Linked DNA regions of Homo sapiens: all the other regions are linked to region 4. Evidence: promoter capture Hi-C in 16 types of primary human blood cells and fetal thymus (Javierre and others, 2016). All regions are on one chromosome and are shown on one strand. Each heading gives the region's core, a stretch centred on a gene start or on the middle of the fragment in contact. The rest is flanking DNA. Distances are from core to core; before and after follow the strand shown.

What was found. The method cuts DNA at HindIII sites, captures the fragments that hold promoters and counts their contacts. A CHiCAGO score of 5 or more calls a contact.
Region 1: a fragment that was not itself captured here is called in contact with the fragment with the promoter of COPS6 in region 4 in 5 of 17 cell types (naive B cells, total B cells, activated CD4 T cells and 2 more); the score reaches 10.0 in naive B cells.
Region 2: a contact is called between a fragment that was not itself captured here and the fragment with the promoter of COPS6 in region 4, in 1 of 17 cell types (naive B cells). The highest score is 6.7, in naive B cells.
Region 3: a fragment that was not itself captured here is called in contact with the fragment with the promoter of COPS6 in region 4 in 4 of 17 cell types (naive B cells, neutrophils, naive CD8 T cells and 1 more); the score reaches 8.3 in naive B cells.

Annotation. Positions count from the first base shown.
Region 1 is chr7:100,407,340-100,410,929 of GRCh38, reverse strand. It overlaps ZCWPW1 (zinc finger CW-type and PWWP domain containing 1), which reads left to right. Exons shown (of 18, transcript NM_001386010.1): 9 at 1,386-1,502; 10 at 2,271-2,391. Among named protein-coding and RNA genes, the nearest start is that of ZCWPW1, 20 kb to the left of the region's middle. The HindIII fragment of the contact is 6,048 bases long and covers 1-3,590 here.
Region 2 is chr7:100,370,084-100,373,504 of GRCh38, reverse strand. PILRA (paired immunoglobin like type 2 receptor alpha) reads right to left here and starts at 18. Exons shown (of 7, transcript NM_013439.3): 1 at 1-18. RefSeq lists an enhancer at 2,350-3,101. The HindIII fragment of the contact is 1,363 bases long and covers 856-2,218 here.
Region 3 is chr7:100,439,955-100,443,317 of GRCh38, reverse strand. No RefSeq gene overlaps it. Among named protein-coding and RNA genes, the nearest start is that of PPP1R35-AS1, 5.0 kb to the right of the region's middle. The HindIII fragment of the contact is 6,057 bases long and covers 1-3,363 here.
Region 4 is chr7:100,087,364-100,090,530 of GRCh38, reverse strand. COPS6 (COP9 signalosome subunit 6) reads right to left here and starts at 1,562. Exons shown (of 10, transcript NM_006833.5): 1 at 1,465-1,562; 2 at 1,116-1,241; 3 at 785-916; 4 at 44-132. The coding sequence starts at 1,540. RefSeq lists enhancers at 1-1,164, 671-1,362, 2,749-3,167 and a silencer at 1,513-1,702. The HindIII fragment of the contact is 8,452 bases long and covers 1-3,167 here.

The DNA of each region.
Region 1 (3,590 bases), core at 633-3,132, 320 kb before region 4:
GTGTCTACAAGAGAATCCAAGTAAATGTCAAGTAATCAAACCAGAGTGGAACAGAGTGAAGAATGAAAGTTGCTTCCAGATGGAGAGGATGGTAGTGGGCAGTGGGTTGGAGAGCTAGATAAAATGAAAGTTGCTATAGGAGTCTTTGAGCAAGTGAGGTGGAAGACGGGGCATTTTTGTAGATAGGATGTTTGGATGAGTGGCTCAGAGGGTGTGCAGTTCCTGCAGATGACTGGGTGGGGCATGCAGGAGTGGGAGTGGGTTCCAGAGGTGACATGAAGAAAAAAGTCAAGGGACTGAAATAATGGGGTGCTGTATGAGGAGTTCCTGTGGATGTAGAGGTCATTTGGAATGAAGGCAGGAGGTGGAGAGAAGACTGAATCAGATACCAGCATCTCTACAAGGGAGATGAGAGGTGAGGATAGTCCCATGGCATAGACCTCAAGGGAGGAAGTTTTTATAAGAGTTGGAGAGTAGTAGCAATGGGGCAATGATAATGCCAGCCTGACTTTCTGTCCCAAGAGACATGGGGAGTGTGAGAGGAACTGACTGCACTTACAGGGTTGTAGGTGGGGGTGGTTTAGGTGGGGCAGTGTCATTAGTGGGTCTCCAGGCTTCAGAAAGGAGATAGAAGTTCAGATTTGAGGTTGAGGATATGTGGACTTTTGTTGCTCGAGTCAATGGACTTTCCAAGACCACAATGGAAGAGTTTTGGTGGGAGAGAGGAGAGGCTGAGGGACATGGGTCAGCTTAGGAGAGGTGGGGGTCTGGAAGGTAATGGATAAAAGGAAGGCTTGGCCTTTGAGCAGGGCCCAGAGTTAATAGTTGATGGAGAAGTGATAGGCTTAGACCTGTGTCTTTTGGAGAAGAGTGAACTCAGACACTGTTGGTCCTAAAGTTTGCAACTTGGTGATTTGGTGACAGGTAAATCAGTTGAGATTTGGATAAGAACTCTGGATGTTGTGCACAAAAGAGATGCAGGTTAGCCCTTCAAAAGAACTTTTCAGTAGTGTCATGCCAGCAGAGAACAAGGCACTATCTGGAAAGATGCCAGGCAACCTTTCAATTTAAGAACTGTCAATACAAGAAACATTCCTTTCAGCCTTGGGGCAGGGAGACATGGTAGCCTAGTACAGGAAAAAGATCAAGGCATGAGACTTGAGTTCTAAGTTCAGCTCTATCGCCAAGTTAGCTAATCCTCAGCAAGCCAGTTACCTCTTTGAGCCTTGGTTTCCCTCTTATAAGTCAGGGATCGGGCTGGTTGATCTCTAATGTCTCTCTGGCTATGTCATTCTGGGAGTTGGGAGGGTTATCCTGATTTTAGTTGGATTAAAGAAGGAAGAGCATATTTTTAAGTCTCTTATTTCATTTTTTTCCTCTCACAGGTCAATGTCTGGTCTGGGTCCAGTGTTCCTTCCCAAACTGTGGGAAATGGAGGCGGCTGTGTGGGAACATTGACCCCTCAGTTCTCCCAGATAATTGGTCCTGTGATCAGAACACAGGTAGAAAAGACTGGAAATGTTTTCATTCATGTTTTATTGTTCCTCCCTTTCTTTCTCTGCACTTATCCTTTAGATTAAATACTACGTAAATATAGTTAGCACTCAGTGTCCTTGTAGTGCTTGGGAGAGAGGAAGGATCTGCCTCTCATATGGAGATGAATCTGGGCAGAAAAGGCTGGAGGAAGATGCCCTGTAAAGTGATCTTGTTGGGGAGGGGCCTGGAATCTAAATACATGAGCATTGGTCTGCCCCTGTCAATCCTGATTAAAATATTGGTATTGGGTTGGTGGATAGGGAGGGATATAGGATATATCGGGGAAAACAGACGAGAGAGATCTGGTGCGCTTAGAATTCTAGGCTGTTTGGAACTAGTTGGAAGAGATGATGATGATCTTGTCCAGCCCAATTATTTTACAGATGAGAAAACAGAGTCTCAGAGAAATTATTCTTATGGTGCTCCATAGACAGGAGCACAGTCAGACACGCGGGCATGCAAGCAGGAGTGTGGAATCTCTTCCTGGAGTATGAGGAGGCACCATTCCTACTGCCTCCAGCTGCATTTCAGCTGGTTCCAGCTGCATTTCAGCTGGTTCCAGCTGCATTTCCTCCATGGGTCTTTATTCTTCCTCTGTGCTGATCTCCCAGGTGCCCCTTTGGTCCCACCTGCTGCATATACCAATTTCCTTCTTGTTCTCTCCCCAGCTCTCATCCAGCTCTTTCTCTTAAAGAGTCTCTTCCTGTCCCTTCATTCCTTCTCTCTTTCAGCAGATGTGCAGTATAATCGCTGTGATATTCCTGAGGAGACCTGGACAGGGCTTGAGAGTGATGTGGCCTATGCCTCCTACATCCCAGGATCCATCATCTGGGCCAAGCAATACGGTTACCCCTGGTAGGGCATTATGACACAGTCAGAGCATCCTTCACAAACTTGGGAGAGGTAGATTCAAGCAGGGGTGGAAGCAAATGGAAAACATCTGTAATTGAAATGGTTCTGGCCTTAGAAAGAGCATGGGGTGAGAGAAAAGATAAAGTACCAAGCCTGGAGGCTTTGAAAGAGTGTATTTTCTGGAGGTTTCAGCATGGAGGTGATAGCTCCCTGGAAAAAAGGGTCTGATAGTGCTACCCCAACTGGTAGAAAGAAGAGGGTGGATCTGAGGCATTTAAAAATATTGAGATTGGCCAGGCGCAGTGGCTCACACCTGTAATCCCAGCACTTTGGGAGGCCAAGGCGGGCAGATCACCTGAGACCACAAGTTTGAGACCAGCCTGGCCAACATGGTGAAATCCCATCCCTACTAAAAATAGAAAAATTAGCCAGACGTGGTGGCGCGTGCCTGTAGTCCCAGCTACTCAGGACGCTGAGGCAGAAGAATCACTTGAATCCGGGAGGCAGAGGTTGCAGTGAACCAAGATTGCACCACTGCACTCCAGTCTGGGCGACAGAGTGAGTCCCCATCTCAAAAATAAATAAAAATATTGAGATTGAGAGAGACAAAGTAAAGGGAACAAGGAAAAGTGGGATAGTTTCTTCTTTGGAGATGTCTCTAGTCGAAGATTTTGTTCTTAGGATTGTGGATGGCTCAGAAGGGTAAGATACCTTCACTAGGTATATTCTGAGCTCCTGTGTGCATCGATGGAAGTCACTTTCTCACGAGTCATTCAGTAGTGACCACTAGAGGGGGATGATGGAAGGGGAATCTATTTTTTGGATCCTTTTTTTGCAAAGCATACTGCTGGCTGAGCGCAGTGACTCACGCTTGTAATCCCAGCACTTTGGGAGGTTGAGGTAGGAGGATTGCTTGAACCCAGGAGTTTGAGATCAGTCCTGGCTATATAGTGAGACCCCATCTCTGCAAAAAATAAAATAAACAGCTGGGTGTGGTGGCATGTGCCTGTAGTCCCAGCTCCTCAGGAGGCTGAGGTGGGAGGATCACTTGCGCCTGACAGATCAAAGCTGCAGTGAGCCATGGTTGTAACACTGCACTCCAGCCTGGGTGACAGAGTGAGACCTTGTCTCAGAAAAAAAATCATACTGCTCTTCTCTGTGCATGTACATTGATGAGGTTGTGTTCTGTTCATCTAACCCCT
Region 2 (3,421 bases), core at 288-2,787, 280 kb before region 4:
CCAGTGCACCTCCAGGGTGACCAGCACTTCCTTTATCCATCTGGCTTATTTTCCCCTATTGCAAAAGGGCCTCCCTTGTGGTCAGTGCCAAGTCAGCCCTGCCCAAAGGCCGCGGTCCCCGTCCTCCTGCCGAGGGGCTGGGCCTGACCTTGGGGGGCTGGGCCTGACCTTGGCTGGCTGGGCCCCTCCCACCTGGATCCCTGCAGACCCCACCTCACTCAGCCTCACTTCTCATCCTTCTCTCTGCCCAGGGCCAGCGCAGGCTCTTTCAGGGAGAGGAAAGGCAGGCCTGAATCTCTGTCCTTCTGCGCCCCAGATTCAGTCCTCAGAGAGGAGGAGAAGGAAGCCGGTGGAGGTCACAGGTGCTCAGCCCCCAGCCCAAGCAGAAGAGCCCCCAGCTTGTCCTCTGTCCCTCTCCCTCCCTGGCAGGGGCTCCCATGCAGTCCCCAGGCACCACCACGACCCAGCTGGCCTCTTCCTGCCCCAGGCCCTCTCTCGGTGCAGGCACCACGACCTTGCTCAAGGGGTGAGGGGGCTAATGGTCCCCTACACAGAGACTGGTCCTTCTGGAAGCCACCCCTTGACCCCCAAGACATGAGACTGGGTCTGCAGGCTCCCCTCTGACGTCCCGCCCTACACAGGAGGGGACAGGGCTCTGAGAAGCCCTGCCCCAGGCCACGTGACTTGCAGTAGTGGGTACAGGACTGGAGCCCCCTCAACCCAGATGTCTGGGCCTGGCTGAAGGGTGGAATCTCTGGGCCTCAACTTCTGAGTGCAGGACAGGAGGCTGTCCCTTCATACAGCCCCTCAGGTCATTCCCTCCACACACCTGAGCCCTTGGCTGATCCAGAAGCTTCCTTGGACACAGAAGAAAGTGAAGGCTCAGAGCAACACCCACCCCACACACAGTCCTGGGCCCATCTCTAACGGGGATCTGCCGGCCTTTGCCCGGGGGTGGTCACTGGAGCAGGGAGCTTTGGTGGTGCACAGGGCTCCCTCCGTAGGAGGCTCTGCCCACCCTCTCCAGGGTGAGGTGGCATCAGTTGAGGGGCCGTGGGGGAAGACAGGATTTCATCAGAGGAAGTGACATCAGCCTTCTTGAGACAGAAGCAGGCAGGGACGGGCCTCCCTTCTCTTAGTCTCTTCCCTGGTCCTAGTAGGCTCCTCTGTGCTTCCCAGGGCCAGCCAGGCCGGCCCGCCCTCCCTCCCTTTACAGGCCTGAGGAAACAGGTTCCCCATGCTCAGGAAACCCCTCCGTCTGAGCCAGGCCCTAAACACCTCATTCTCTGCTTCACAACATTCTGAGGTGACACATTATCTCCATTCAACCCACAGGGAAACTGAGGGACGGGGGCTTTGGGCTGAACTGGTCACAGCTGGAAAGATGGGCTGCAGAGAGGACAAGGGACCCCCTGGCTGTCTGGGCAGGGCCTCGAGAGGGTGGCCCGCCCCACCTGAGGACCTGGCTGAAAGGTCACCTGCTTACCAGGCTGTCCAATGTGGGGGCCACATAGAACTTATAGCCAACAGCCTCTGGGTAGCTCTGGAGGGCACATGCTGCCCAATGCTGCCACGTGCAGTCTCCTTAGATGCAACATGCATGTTTATGTCACTTTCAGGCCCTGGATCCAGCTGAACCCCCATGGGAGATTCCTTCTGTGTCAGGATTTCTGCTCTGGGATGGTGTGAGGTCTCCTGGATTTGTTCATCCTCCCTCCCCCAACAGCAGTGACAGAACCTGGGACTGAGCCTGGGGCTGTGGCTCTCTCACAGACAGGGCTTCTGAGAGGAGGAGGAGGGCCTGGAGGAGGGCATGATTCCAATGTGGGCAGAGCCTAAATGCAGCCCCTTAGTGCAGGTGCTCATGGGAGAGGCGTGGGAAGTCGTGTGTGGGGAGCAGGGGCAGGGAGGGGGTAAGTACCCTGCACCGCATTATGAGAACCACTGCTTGGATGTCCCCACATTCCCCCAACAAGTATCCTACTGTCCTCACTGGCCACATCCGTCCCTGCCCCCAGCCCCTCACCTCTCCTTGGCACCCACCGTTCCTGCTTTCCTCTGATCCCAATCGACATCCCATAGGCTTTGTGGAGTTCACAAGCCAACTGTAATATTCTCACAGTAATTCAAAGGACCTAGAATAGCCAAAAGGCCTTTACAAATGAAGAATGAAGGTGGAAGATTTATAATACCTGACTTCAAGACTTGCTGTAAAGCTTCTGTAATCAGGCTGTACTGTCCTCAAGGTACTAGAGTGTCCACAGACTGGAGTGTAGGGACGCGATCACCATCACTCCTGGGCTGAAGCAATTTGCTGACCTCAGCCTCCCAAGTAGTGAAGACCACAGGCACACACCACCACACACGGCTAATTTTTTTTTTTTTTTGAGAGATGGGGTCTCACTATGTTGTCTAGGCTGGTCTCAAGTTCCTGGGCTTAAGCAATCCTCCTGCCTCGGCCTCCCTCAGTGCTGGGATGACAGGTGTGAGCCACCTCACCAAGCCCCACTGGATTGCTGATATTCTGGCATCTTGGACCTCCAAGAGCAGAGAGAGGGACTGCCCCTGCCAGAGCCAGCCAGTTGTTAGAGCTAGCAAATGACCCCTCTGAGAGTGTCCCTTTTTTTTTCTGAAACAGTCTCACTCTGCTGCCAGGCTGGAGTGCAGTGGCACGGTCTCGGCTCACTGCAACCTCCACCCCTGGGTTCAAGCGATTCTCCTGCCTCAGCCTCCCAAGTTGCTGGGATTACAAGTGCGTGCCACCATGCCCAACTAATTTTTGTATTTTTAATAGAGACGGGGTTTCACCACGTTGGCCAAGATGGTCTCCATCTCCTGACCTTGTGATCTGCCCACCTCGGCCTCCCAAAGTGCTGGGATTACAGGCTTGAGCCACGGCTCCTGGCTGAGTGTGCCTTTCATATGCAAACCAGCTAATCCAGGGCCCCAACACTGAACCAGCTCTTCTAGCTGCCTCTCACCCTTCAGAAGGCAGTATTTCTCTGCCTTCATCATCCTGGGCCAGACACCAAATAACAAATGACAGCCTCTAATCCCCAGAGCCTGCTAACGTTATTCTAACTAGCCAATCCTAAACCTGCATACCCTTCCTTGCCTTTTCCAGGGAAAGCATAACAAAGGGTCTCACCCCTGTGTTCCCTTGGCTTCCTCTACTCCCTGAGGGACCCTGGTGCTTTCCCAAGTGGCCCTGCATGGCTGTGTCTCTCGTTTCTGGGGATCTGTGAGGATACACTGCTTCCCTTATGACCCTCATTTCCATGGCCATACCTGATGGAAAGAAATGGCAGGTGCATTTTGTTTTATTATTATTATTATTTTGAGACGGAGTCTCACTCTGTCGCCCAGGCTGCAGTGCAGTGGCACCATCTCGGCTCACTGCAACCTCTGCCTCCCAGGTTCA
Region 3 (3,363 bases), core at 754-3,253, 350 kb before region 4:
GCTAAGGGGATCTGTCGGGACCTGCCTCCCAGAGTGAGGGTGGCGATTTCTGCATACATTTCCCCTATCTGTGGCTCCCTTTTCCTGGGTTATGGGCCCATCTTCCGTGCCTCCACACCCTTTCTTTCTACCTCCAGCTGTCCCTGGGCTCTTTGGGACCCTAACCACTGGCATCAATCAACCTTCTATGCCCAGTGTGGACATCAAGGACATCTCCCCAGCAAGCTCAGGCCTTCAGCCCAACATTCTCCTCCTTGCTGTGCTCAGCTCCATTGAATTCTCCATCCTCCACCCCACCCTGCAAATCTGTTTATCTTTGCTTTTCTGGTTTCTTTCATTTTCCTCTGCCTCACCCAGATTCCAGACAAATTCTTATTTATTTATTTATTTATTTGAGATACAGTTGCTGGCGGCTCACTGTAACCTCTGCCTCCCAGGTTCAAGTGATTCTCATGCCTCAGCCTCCGGAGTAGCTGGGATTTGCAGGCATGTGCCAGCACACGCAGCTAAAATTTTTTTTTTTTTTTTTTGAAATGGAGTCTCGCTTTGCTCGCTTTGTTGCCCAGGCTGGTGTGCAGTGGCATGATCTGGGCTCACTGCAACCTCCACCTCCTGGGTTCAAGCAATCCTCCCACCTCAGCCTCCCAAGTAACTGGGATTACAGGCCTGGGCTACCACATACGGGTAATTTTTATATTTTTAGTAGAGACGGGGTTTCAGCATGTTGGCCAGGCTGGTCTTGAACTCCTGACCTCAAGTGATCCATCTGCTTGGGCCTCCCAAAGTGCTGGGATTATAGGCGTGAGCCACAACACCCAGCTTGGATTATGGACAAATTCTTTTGAATGAGACTCTGTCCCCTGCCTCCAACTTTTCTGCATCCCAGCAGCTGGCATCATCCCATGTCCCAGAGACTTCACACATACCTAATGGGGCTCATCTCAACCCTCCTGTTCCTCAGCCTGATGCTGGGGAGGCCAGGCTCAGGGTCAGTGTGTTGGCCTGCAGCCCGATGTGTGCCCTCCTCCCTGGATCTCTTCCTTCTGGGTTGGGACGAAGGCGTGAAGGTGGTTTGGAGTCATGAGTTCAGGCTGAGACACCTCAGACCTACCTGACCTGCTGGGGGATTCACCCTGCCAGCCTCCGAGATGCAGTAGGATGAGAACACGCACTCTGGGGATAGGAGCCTGGATGTGTGTGTGTCTGGAGGTTGGCCATTCCCATCTTCCAGCGTGTCTCGTGTGACAGGGACCAGTGTGGAAGTGTCTCTGGGTTGGCCCTTAGGCATAGGCCAGTTTGAGAATAGGAGACAGGAGGTGAGAGGTCGCCATAGGTGGGGTTTGCAGAGGGTGGTATTAGAGCTTTGCTGTCTCTCTGATCTTTCTTGGCCCTATTTGGGGGTGACTTCCAGGATGACGCCCTTGCTCCTCCCCCACCCCCAACCCTGGCAGGTCTTCCCATGTGTCCTCTGTAGCAGTCTCAGCCACACCGTGCAGTGGACCACTGCATTGGAGGCATCCTACCTCTTCTTAAGGACATGGTCCCTTCAAGGACCCTGGATGCTGACCTGTCTCCTGTCCCACCTAGCCCACCTATAGCACCTGGCTCAGCAGAAGCTCATGGATGACCTTGAATGACCCCTTCCAGCACTGAGACTTGCTTTCTTCAAACTAGCATCCAGGTCTAGGATTACCCCACTCAGCAGCCTCAGATAACTAAAGGAGCATCTCTAACTGGTGAGGTCTAACCCAATCAAAAGTCTTTTTTTTTTTTTTTTTGAGACGGAGTCTCGCTCTGTTGCCCAGGCTGGAGTGCAGTGGTGCGATCTCGGCTCACTGCAAGCTCCGACTCCCAGGTTCACGCCATACTCCTGCCTCAGCCTACTGAGTAGCTGGGACTAGAGGCGCATGCCACCACACCCGGCTAATTTTTTGTATTTTTAGTAGAGACAGGGTTTCACCGTGTTAGCCAGGATGGTGTTAATCTCCTGACCTCGTGATCCGCCCGCCTCGGCCTCCCAAAGTGCTGGGATTACAGGCGTGAGCCACAGCACCCAGCCCAAAAGCCTTATAATAAATAATATTTAAGAGATGGGTGTTGCTCTGTCGCCAAGGCTGGAGTGCAGTGGCGTGATCATAGCTCACTGCAGCCTCGAAGTCCTGGGCTCAAGGGATCCTCCCACCTCAACCTCCCCGGTACCTGGGACTACAGGAATACACCACCACGCCTGGCTAATTTTTAATTTTTTTATAGAGACTGGGTCTCACTATGTTGCCCAGGCTGGTCTTGAACTCCTGGCCTCACAGGGATCCTCCTGCCTCTGCCTCCCAAAGTGCTGGAATTACAGGCATGAGTCACGGTGTCCCAGCCATTTTTTTTTTTTTTTTTTTTTTTTGAGACAGAGTCTCACGCTGTTGCCCAGGCTGGAGTGCAGTGGTGCCATCTTGGCTCACTGCAACCTCCCCCTCTCAGGTTCAAGTGATTCTCATGCCTCAGCCTCCCGAGTAGCTGAAATTACAGGCATGTGCTGCCATGCCCAGGTAATTTTTTGTAGTTTTAGTAGAGAAAGGGTTTCACTGTGTTGCCCAGGTTGGTCTCGAACTCCTGGCCTCAAGTGATCTGCCTGCCTTGGCCTCCCAAAATGCTGGAATTATAGGCATGAACCACCATGCCCTGTCCTCCTCCCCATTTTTTTTTTTTTTTTTTTTGAGACCGAGTCTCGCTCTGTCACCCAGGCTGGAGGGCAGCAGCACAATCTCAGCTTACTGCAACCTCTGCCTCCCCGGTTCAAGCAATTCTTCTGCCTCAGCCTCCTGAGTAGCTGGGACTACAGATGAGTGCTACCACGCCCAGCTAATTTTTTGTCCCCTTTTCTTTTGAAGAGGAAAAGCAATTCCTGGCCTCCCAGCCTGGGCCAGCCAAAATAGCTTAGGAAGAATGTGGGCAGGCCCAAGACCTCTCACCTCCCTCACCTCCACCTTCCGATCTTCACACTCGTACTGTTTTTTTTTTTTTAATTATTATTATTATTATTATTATTTTGAGACAGAGTTTTGCTCTTGTTGCCCAGGCTGGAATGTAATGGCACGATCTCTGGCTCACTGCAACCTCCGCCTCCCAGCTTCAGGCAATTCTGCCTCAGCCTCCTGAGTAGCTGGGATTACAAGCATGCACCACCACACCCGGCTAATTTTGTATTTTTAGTAGAAATGGGGTTTCTCCATGTTGGTCAGGCTGATCTCAAACTCCCAACCTCAGGTGATCTGCCTGCCTCGGCCTCCCAAAGTGCTGGGATTACAGGCGTGAGCCACCGCGCCAGGCCCTGTTTTCTTAAAATCATTGGTGAACATTCCACTTCTTGGA
Region 4 (3,167 bases), core at 313-2,812:
CTCCATTCTCTGCCCCAGCATGCACAGGTGTGAGCATGCATACCTGCTTATGGACGTGGATGTCCGAGGGGTCAGGTGGCCCCCCTGTGGTATACCAACCCAGAAACTCCAGCTCCTTGAACACCTGTTTAACTAGAGGGGAAGGGGCCAGAACATATAGTAATTCTTTTTTTTTTTTTTTCTGAGACGGAATCTCGCTCTGTTGCCCAGGCTGGAGTGCAGTGGCATGATCTCAGCTCACCACAACCTCCGCCTCCCAGGTTCAAGCAATTCTCCTGCCTCAGCATCCCGCGTAGCTGGGACTACAGGCACGCACCACCATGCCAGACTAATTTTTGTATTTTTAGTAGAGGTGGGGTTTCACTATGTTTGCCAGGCTGGTCTTGAACTCCTGACCTCATGATCCACCCACCTCGGCCTCCCAAAGTGCTGGGATTAGAGGCATGAGTCACTGAGCCCGGCCTGACATAGTAATTCTTTAAACCATCCTTCCTCAATGTGAAGCTCCTGGTGTATTTTCACCAGCTTCTCTCCTCCCTCCTCAAATCCTGGCTCAGTTTAGAATAACTACTCCCTTCTATCCTGTCTCCTCTCATCCTTTGCTTTCTTTTGAGAAAGAACTCTGAACGTTTTCTTTTTCTGAGATCTCTCCAGCTACTCTTCACTTTTTCTCCCCTGTTCTTGGTCTCCTCTCCTGTTTCTTTCCAACCCTCTCCATCTTCCCCACCCTGTACATTTTTTTTTTAACTCCCACTCCTCTTCCCCACATCTATTCCACTCTCACACTGCTCCTCCTTGGTGTAATAATATTCCTTGTCAATGATAATCTTCTCTTCCACGGTGTGGGACAGCAGCTCAAAGGAGTTCATCACCTCGATATTTCGGCCCTCCTGCTTGCCAATCAGAGCCCCAATCACTGGGAAAGAGAATGACATGGAAAAGGTGAGGGTAAAGAAACTTCTATGACCTGAGGGTCTGAGATCAGTGGGAACCATGTATTGGGGAAACGATGATTTGGGGGAGGGGGAATTGGCTCCAGTAGAGGAAGGGGAAAAGACCACTGCCTGGGGGAGGTGAGCAAGGAGAAGAGACTGGAGTCTATGCCCAACACTCACCCTGCACAGGCCGCCCCTCCTGGGAGCGCATGCGGATCCAGTGGTCTGAGATGTTGAGAATGACAAGGGGATGGAGAGCGACGGAAACACTCCCAGTCACTCCGCAGGCCATCACGCTGGGGACTACTAAGGGTGGAGGGAAAGGAGAGAGGGTGAGAGTCCGGGCCCCACGTTCTTCCCTGGAGATGGCAGTGGGGGACGGCGGAGCCCGGGCCACACTTTCCTCCCGTAACTTATCCCAGGGAAAGATGTTGCTGCTCCGCCCTCCTCCCTTCTCCCGGGAGCACAGGGAGGCCTCAACGAACCCCTGAAGGAGGTCTCCGGAAGCCACCCCCGCACGGCCCGTTACCTGCTGCATCCACCTCCATCCCGCTGCTTCCTCCGGTCCCGTTCGTAGCTGCAGCCGCCGCCGCCGCCGCCGCCATTTTCCCCGCGCCCGCCAGCCTCGGCCCCGCCCCCTTCCTTCCCGGCTTCCGTAAGGCGAGCGGCGCATGTTCGGTGTCCCCGCGGCGTGCGGCGGGCCTGGCGTCCGGGGAGCAGGCAGTTCCCGGGTCGCGGCGGGCGGCACTCGGTGCGGGGACGCCCGACGCCCTCTGGGCCTCGGTGCCTAGCGGGTTTTCCCAGACCCTGTCCCCGCCTGTCGCCTGCGGGTGACCTTTGACAAATTAACGACTTGATCGTCCTCGTCTGTGAAATTGGGATAAGAACGCCTAGTTCTTAAGGCTGTTGCAGAAGGAATGACATGTCGTGTTATTTCCCTCACAATAAAATCCAAACAACTAACCACAACCTGCAAGGCCCTGCCTGATCTGGCCCCGGCCTGGCCTCTTCTAGCCCTTGATCTTCAGGCTTCAGCTGCACTGGCCCTCATGTCTGGTGGTGGTGGTGGTTTGTTTTGTTTTGTTTGAGACAGGGTCTCGCTCTGTCGCCCAGGCTGGAGTGCAGTGGCCTGATGTCAGCTCACTGCACCCTCAAACTCCTGGGCTCAAGTGATCCTCCCAGTTCAGCCTCCCGAGTAGCTGGGACTACAGGCGCACCCCACCGCACCCAGCTAATTTTATTATTTGTTTTTATTTTGATAGAGACGGGGGTCTCACTAGGTTGTCCAGGCTGGTCTCCAACTCCCGGGCAGAAGAGATCCTCCATCCTCAGCCTCCCAAAGCACTGGGATTACAGGCATGAGCCACCGCACCCAGCTCTCCGTGTGTTTTTCACATGCTTTAGTTTCCCATTCAAAAGCCTGTGGTTCCTTCTCTTGTTCATCATGGTATCCCCTGTGACCAACACGGTGCCTGACACATTGGAGCCTAGATACTTTTTGAGTGAATGAAGGAATAATTAGGGGTGGAATCTGGTGTTGAGTTAGTTGCTCCATCTTGTGAAAGTTGCAGATACCAGGACAAAATCACATTGTCAGGTCCAAACAAATTGGAGCCATGAGAACACCAAGGAGAAGGTCTCATGCTTGCATGTCTGAGATAGGAATTATCTCAAGGACTTTCGAAAATAACCCCACAAGGCCAGGCATGGTGGCTCACACCTGTAATACCAGCATTTTGGGAGACCGAGGCCAGACAATCACTTGAGGTCAGCAGTTTGAGACGAGCCTAGCCAACATGGTGAAACCCCATCTCTACTAAAAATACAAAAATTAGCCAGGCGTGGTGGCAGGCGCCTGTAATCCCAGCTACTCAGGAGCCTGAGGCAGGAGAATTGCTTGAACCCGGGAGGTGGAAGCTGCAGTGAGCTGCGATCGCGCCACTGCACTCCAGCCCGGGCAAGACAAAGTGAGACTCCATCTCAAAAAAAAAAAAAAAAGAAAGAAAGAAAGAAAGAAAGAAGATAACTCCACAAGGCCAGGCATGGTGACTCACGCCTGTAATCCTAGCACTTTGGGAGGCCAAGGTTGGAGGATCACTTGAACCCAGGAGTTTGAGACCAGCCTTGGCAACATGGTGACACCTTGTTTCAACAAAACATGGAAACAAAATTCGCTGGGTATGGTAGAGGCATGCCGAGGAAATTTATGCTTGGGAAGTGAGTCAAAACTCC